Regions from separate parts of the Homo sapiens genome. Here region 1 is linked to region 2. Evidence: promoter capture Hi-C in human tissues and cell types (Jung and others, 2019). All regions are on one chromosome and are shown on one strand. The core of a region is centred on a gene start or on the middle of the fragment in contact, and the rest is flanking DNA. Distances in the headings are between cores, read along the strand shown. Region 1 holds the start of NLRX1 (NLR family member X1). Region 2 has its middle 3.2 kb from the start of DDX6.

Evidence for each region. The method cuts DNA at HindIII sites, captures the fragments that hold promoters and counts their contacts. A contact is called where the count stands out against the background at its distance.
Region 1: the fragment with the promoter of NLRX1 here is called in contact with a fragment that was not itself captured in region 2 in 1 of the 25 tissues and cell types used here (mesenchymal stem cells).

The regions. Positions count from the first base shown.
Region 1 is chr11:119,166,507-119,170,086 of GRCh38, reverse strand. NLRX1 (NLR family member X1) reads right to left here and starts at 1,362. Exons shown (of 10, transcript NM_001282144.2): 1 at 785-1,362. RefSeq lists enhancers at 1-566, 567-1,272 and a silencer at 844-1,453. The HindIII fragment of the contact is 23,273 bases long and covers 1-3,580 here.
Region 2 is chr11:118,792,547-118,796,205 of GRCh38, reverse strand. No RefSeq gene overlaps it. Among named protein-coding and RNA genes, the nearest start is that of DDX6, 3.2 kb to the right of the region's middle. RefSeq lists enhancers at 3,157-3,266, 3,655-3,659. The HindIII fragment of the contact is 4,819 bases long and covers 1-3,659 here.

The DNA.
Region 1 (3,580 bases), core at 113-2,612, 370 kb before region 2:
ACACTCTTCCCAGTTTGGAATGACCTTTTTCCTCTGTTAGAGTCCCAACCAATTTTTTTTTTTTTTTTTTTTTTTTTTTTTTTTTTCCTGAGACAGGGTCTCTCGCTCTGTTGCCCAGGCTGGAGTGCAGTAGTACGATCTCAGCTCACAGCAACCTCTACCTCCTGGGCTCAAGCCATCCTCCTGCTTCAGCCTCCTGAGTAGCTAGGACTAAAGTGGTGTGCCACCACACCTGGCTAATTTTTGGCTTTGGTTTTTGTAGAGACGGGGTTTTCACCATTGTTGCCCAGGGTGGTCTCGAACTCCTGGGCTCAAGTGATCCGCCCGCCTTGCCCTCCCAAAGTGCGGGGACTGCAGGCGCGAGCCACCACTCGGGCCCCAACCAATCTTTTAAGATCCTGCTCAAAAGTCTCCGTCCCTGGGAAGTCTTTTCTGAGGCCTCTGAACTCACTTAAATGGAATGTGCCCCTATTTGGCACCTGGTCTCCTCCACTGAGATCGGGGCTTCTTGGGCAGGGTACGCTTAAGGAGAACTGGCTGCATTGGGCCACCTGCCTTAGCAGGGCCAACCAGCGGAGGAGCTGGCTGGGTGCTGGCCCGTCCCAGGGGCTGCGGAAGGGTTAAGAGAGGGCTCCAGAAGCCTGAGAAAGCCTAGGTTCCGGTTTAACCTCGGATCTAGGGCCACTGAGTCAAGACGGGACTTGCGGGGCCGAGGGCAGTTCTCCGGTGATCACCCAGGTCTCCAGGGCAATGAGAAAAGGAGGGGGCACTGCAGGAAACGTACAGGGGCGGTGTTCCTACAGGTCCAGAGCTCCTCCACCAAACTGGGTCCCAAACAGCTCTCCTACTTTCGGGTGGCCTCGGGAACGCAGGGGGAGACTTGCCAGAACGCCCGCCATTCAGCGCCCAGCTCCGTCCCTCTCGTTCTCGGCCGGGATCTCCCCGCGGCCCTTGCACAGCCTCCTCCCCCGGCCCGCCCTGCCCCCCGCTCAGCGCGGCCTCCCAGCCAGGGCGCAGGGGTTATCAAGCCCGCTAGGCCTTTACCCGCGGCTGCCCAGTTCCGGGAGCCGTCGGCCGCGGCCCAGAGGGGTCGGCTGGGCGGACGCCGGCGTCTCCCGCTAGCTCCCAGAGTCCCCGGCTCCTCGGCGTGGCGCTTCCTGCCCACCTCCGCCCGCCTGCGCGGCCCTGGCACCTGGCAGCGGGCGCGAAAGAGGACGAGCCCAGGCACTCGGGCCTGCGGGGTCCTGGGACGAGGGGGTCAGCGAGAGGGGCCCGGTGCTCCGGAGCAGGCGCAGGGCTGGAACCCCGGCGCCACCCGTCCCGCCATCGTCCCCCCTCCCTGCCTCCATCCCCGCGGGCACTGCCGCTAGTACTGCCCTCTGCAGGTTCCCAAGCGCCAGTGACACCCAGTGACCTCACTAACCACCTCCCAGGCTGGGCTGCTTGTTAGGCCCATTTTACAGATGAAGAAACTGATGCTCAGAAGGGTGAAATGACTTGTGCAGGTTGATTCAGTTAGGAAGTGGATGAGCCAGAACAACATCCCGGGCCTGAGTCTTCCTACCTTACCCCTGGGCCTCCCTGAGGCGCGGTGTCCAGGGGATTCTTCCCTCTGTCCCTCTCCGCCTCCCCAGCCTACCTTCAGGCAGAGACCTGAGCCTAAGGCTTCCTTGGGTTCTGCCTTATGTATCCGGTCCTCTTCAGAGCCCAGACCTATGTGTGTGGCTGCTGGTAACCTTGGTTAAGAAAGAAGGAAGAATGGGGGCTGAAGGACAACTTGCACCCCAACCTGCTCTTCGGGTCTGACACCCATTCATGGCCTAGCCCTGGGGCTTCCCAGTTCCCAAAGCCCCCACCCTTATCCCTACACTTCCACACACTTCCACACCCTGGGCTCACGTAGCCCAGAAGGAGGAGCCACCCACCACCCACAGCCAGGGCACGCCTTCGTATGCAAGCATGAGTGTACGATGTTCACACAACAGAGCTGTGCACTAGGGCACCCACAGAGAGGCTCTCCAGGGCAGGGCTGGGAAGAGGACTTACTGAAAACAATGTGGATGTTTCATTTAGACATTTGTTCATTCGTTGTACTGTGGTATTGGGTAGCACTGAGCACCTCACCCCCACAAGCCAGGTCCAGCACTAGGCCCTGGGCTGCCAACCACAGCAAGGCAGGCACCTCACTTTAATGGAATCAACTACCACATTTACAAATGATGTACTTCAAGGCCGAGGCAGGAGGATCACTTGAGACCAGGAGTTTGAGACCAGCCTGGGTGACATAGTGAGACCCTGTCTCTATTTAAAATGAAAATAGAAAATAAAAATATAAAAAACAGACAAACAAATGATGTACTTCAGTGGCAGAGGCAAGGCATTAGGAGAGTCTGGAAAAGGGAGTGCAGAGGAGGTAACATTTGTACTGGATCTGAAAAAATAAATCAGAGGACCAGCCGCGGTGGCTCACACCTGTAATCTCAGCACTTTGGAAGGCTGGGGGTGAGGGCAGATCTCCTGAGGCCAGGAGTTTGGGACCAGCTCAAACTCGTCACCATGGCCAACATGGTGAAACCCCCGTCTCTACTAAAAATAACAAAAATTGGCCAGGCATGGTGGCTCATGCCTGTAATCCTAGCACTTTGGGAGGCCAAGGCAGGCGGATTGCCTGAGCTCAGAAGTTCACGACCAACCTAGGCAACGTGGTGAAACCTCATCTCTACTAAAAATACAAAAATTAGCCGGGCTGGGTGGTGCATGCCTGCAGTCCCAGCTACACAGGAGGCTTAGGCAGGAGAATCGCTTGAATCCAGGAGGCGGAGGTTGCCGTGAGCCAAGATCACGCCACTGCATTCCAGCCTGGGAGACAGAGCAAGACTCTGTATCAAAAAAAAAAAAAAAATCAACCAGACGTGGTGGCATGGGCCTGTAGTACCAGCTACTCAGAAGGCTGAGGCACAAGAATTGCTTGAACTTGGGAGGTAGAGGTTGCAGTGAGCCGAGATCATGCCACTGCACTCTAGCCTGGGAGATAAAGCAAAACCGTGTCTCAAAAATAAAAACAAAAGCACAAAAAATTAGCTGGGCATGGTGGCACATGCCCATAATCACAGCTACTCAGGAGACTGAAGCAGGAGAATTGCTTGAACCTGGGAGGCGGAGGTTGCAGTGAGCCAAGATTGCACCACTGCACTCCAACCTGGGCAACAGAGAGAGACCCTGTCTCAATAAATAAATAAATCAGAGAAAGGAAAGGCAGGGCATCCCAGCAGCAGGGTGAACAACACATTTGCATTTTAAAAGAGGTTCTTCAAGGGGAGTAGAATAGGATGTGGGAGGGGAAGTATAGGAACCCCATGAATGTAGTCTCATGGGTGACAGTTTGGGCCTGGTAATCTCCTCTAGCTTCATTCCACTTACCTAGCCATGCAAGACAGTCACCTGGCAGCAGTTCCTGGACACAGCTCAGAGCAATCTGTTTTCCTCCCCTGTCACCTTCCCCATGGGTACGACAACCATGTAGGTTTTATTAATAACATATACTTTGACTGGCCTCTTGCAGACAGAAGTACTGTGAGTC
Region 2 (3,659 bases), core at 594-3,093:
TGGCTCACTGCGACCTCTGCCTCCTGGGTTCAAGCAATTCTCCTGCCTAAGCCTCCCTAGTAGCTGGGACTACAGGTGCATGCCACCACGCCCAGCTAATTTTTTGTATTTTTAGTAGGGACAGGGTTTCACCATGTTAGTCAGGCTGGTCTTGATCTCCTGACCTCGTGATCCGCCTGCCTCGGCCTCCCAAAGTGCTGGGATTACAGGCGTGAGCCACTGTGCCCGGCCCAGCCACACATTATTTTCAAATTAATAAATAAGTTAAAATTGCTGGCATGCAGTCATCTTAGCGAAACTGAAGAGTCAAAATGAATAGCTAGAATTCTCTGGGTGATGACCAGAACATATACCATGCTGAGTCCCGATGTGGCCGAAGGACACCGTGAGCTGAGCCAGCTAGCTAGCTTGGTTGTGGTGTGCTGGGAATGAGGGTTATGTTATCTGTGAAAGAGAATACAAATTCTGCAAAGTAAACCTGGCAGTTTGGGGAAAATGTGTTTAACTCACCCACTCCCCTCCTCGTTTGTACTATTGCTTTCCTACACTTTTTTTTTTTTTTTTTTTTTTGAGACAGAGTCTTACTCTGTCACCCAGGTTGGAGTGCAGTGGTGCAATCTCAGCTCACTGCAACCTCTGCCTCCTGGGTTCAAGCAATTCTCCGCCACAGCCTCCCAAGTAGCTGGGATTACAGGTGCATGCTGCCACACCCGGCTAATTTTTGTATTTTTAGTAGAGATGGGGTTTCACCATGTTGGCCAGGCTGGTCTCGAACTCCTGACCTCACGTGATCCGCCCACCTTGGCCTCCCAAAGTGCTGGGATTACAGGTGTGAGCCACCGCGCTGGCCAACTTTCCTACTTTTCAATTTGAGTTTACTCAGGGGTTGGAACATTTATTCCAACAAAATGTGCCTGATGTAACCTCTCAGTGATTAAGCACGCCTGCTTAGTATGCATCAACTTCAGCGCAGTATGTGCACCTCTCTGAGGACATCTCTACTAAGCCCTCAGTGACTGATGCTGCTTCACTTTCTTCAGGTGTATAAATTGAAAAGGCAATTTTTACCTGCTATGAAGTCCCAAGAAAACGGGACTTGGCTCCTTGGGCATATTAGCCTTTAGTCTTGTTAGTGATGATCAGATGTTGCTTGAGCATATTTGGAAAATAACTTTGTATGTTGAAATTTTGGGAAATCAAAGTATTATACTGCAAATCACTTGAAAGAGGGCAAATACCAAATGGTAAAGCTTAGCCAGATGTGATATAATCATTTCACTGAAGATATGAGATAGGTAAAATTTTTTTCTTATAGGTAATGAACACATTTGATTGTAATTTGAGTTAAAGTATTATAGTCCCTTTTAAAAAAAAAGCCCAGAATGTTAAAAGTGTGAACTCCATTTCAGCAAGTTGAAAACATTTGAGTGTTTAAGATATTATCACAGGTCTGCGTATTCCAGGTTCAACTTACTAGGAATTCTGGATTCTAAGTATTTTAAATTGAAGTTAAAGTGAAATCAAGTGTAAATTAATCTGTGATTTTTTTTTCGTTCTGGTTATTTTTAGGTAAATAAATGAGGTCAGGATGTGAGACTGGCGAATAATATATGCTGAGATAACCCATTACTGTGATTGAATTCCAGGAGGAAATTGAAGAGGGGTGATGACGCAAAGGTGAATACAGACAACATGAAAACGGCTAATACATGTTGGGAAACTTTTTTTTTCATTTCTTTTTCTTTTTCTTTTTTTTTTTTTTTTTGAGACGGAGTTTTGCTCTTGTTGCCCAGGCTGGAGTGCAATGGCACGATCTTGGCTCACTGCAACCTCCGCCTCCCCAGGTTCAAGGGATTCTCCTGCCTCAGCCTCCCAAGTAGCTGGGATTACAGGCACCTGCCACCATGCCCAGCTATTTTTTTTCTTTTTTTTTTTTTTAGTACAGACGGGGTTTCACCATGTTGGCTAGGCTGGTCTGGAACTCCTGACCTCAGTCGACCCACCTGCCTCGGCCTCCCAAAGTGCTGGGATTACAGGCGTGAGCCACCGTGCCCAGCCCAAGTGAAAAACTCTTTACCACAATTAATAGGTGAGTTCATTAGGGATGATAGCACACCCTTCAGAAACCGTATTTACTACAGATCTCCCACAACTATCACACTCAATACTAACTAAAAGGCCAGAGGATTGGATTCATATAACTTTTTTAAAAGTACACATATATTTTATAAATATAAGGATATTATTTGCACTAGCAATTTATCTGTATTCCTAAAGTGTCATACAAATGATTCTTGCAAATCTGTTTTAACTAGGGAGAAAACAATGTATTGAGATAGTTGGACTAGACCTATCTACCACTAACACTAAACTTGGAAGAAAAGATCCAAGAGTTCATAGCTTAATTCTAAACCATCTATGCTTCTCACTTGAAAACAGAGAAGGGCTGATGTAAATGAGTTGTGAGGGTATCTGACTACCTTAAAAGCAGAATATTTGAAGGTTTTAGCCCTGGAAGGATTCCTAGGTGAGAAGGCAGCACCTATTTCATATTCTACTTTTGGTTGCCTCCTGGCTTTTGTTTTGTGACCTCAACCAGACTCCTTGTGTAGGTTACAATTTATTTGTGGATGTGAACCCGGGCTCCTTTTGTAGGTTATAGTTTATTTGTGGGTGTGAACCCCCTTCCTTTGCCTGGTTCAATTTCTTCAGTGGTTTAGGAAAGACACCCCTCCAAGCAGTGGCCTGTTTTAAATCCGTAGGCCTCTCTTCCTACCACTCACTTCTTGGCCCAACCCCCCTTCACATTCCTCTGCTTGGGAAGATATTGGGGCAAAAAAGGCCTCATACATTTTTTATTAAGAAACCATTTTCTCTCTAGGATGGGCACAAGGTGCAGGGCTATTTCCTTACATTAGAAGGTATTTTAAAACCTGGGCTGGAGACGCCATGCTGTAAATTTAAAATAAAAAAAAAATGTAAGCCGAACCTTCTTTTTAACCTTAAGAATAGTCTTCACTATTCTCCACCACCTTCCCACCGGCTGTGTAGAAATAACGACCACCAAATGAGAATAGGCTATTTACTCAGAGCTGGCAAGAGTCAGCCGCGACCCATCACTTGATTTAACAGACTCATAGGCAGGCAGGGGAGTGGAAAAGCTTTACATATACTGAAAAAAGGGAGAAACTTCAGGTTGGCTCTGATTGGAGGATGTTGGCATCGGGAAGTTGGAGGAGGGCTATACTAGAAGCAGGGCTTCTTACGCGATTGGTGTGAGGAGCACATTTGGCTTTCTCTGATTGGCCCAGAGCTGGAAGCAGGGGCAAGAAATAGGGAAGCTGCCGGTTAAAGATTAAGTCCTGACCCTTCTGGCCGATTACTGAAGAGGTTATGGGTAGGAGGTCATGGTTAGGTTTGGCCATTCTTTGTATATTCAGTCTCTCAATTGGGTGAGGATTAGATTTTGTTTCTCTTGACCTAGCTAGCTTTTAGCTCCAAAGTTTTGTTTAACTTGGAAGAAGACAGCAGTTCTATTATTTCTGTCAAGGATAAACACAGACATTGGGATCTGAAAAGTATTATGGGAACATACATAAATATCTTCATAGTGAGGGTCAGGCCGGAGAGTCACCCTTTGCCTTAAGCTTCTCCATTTC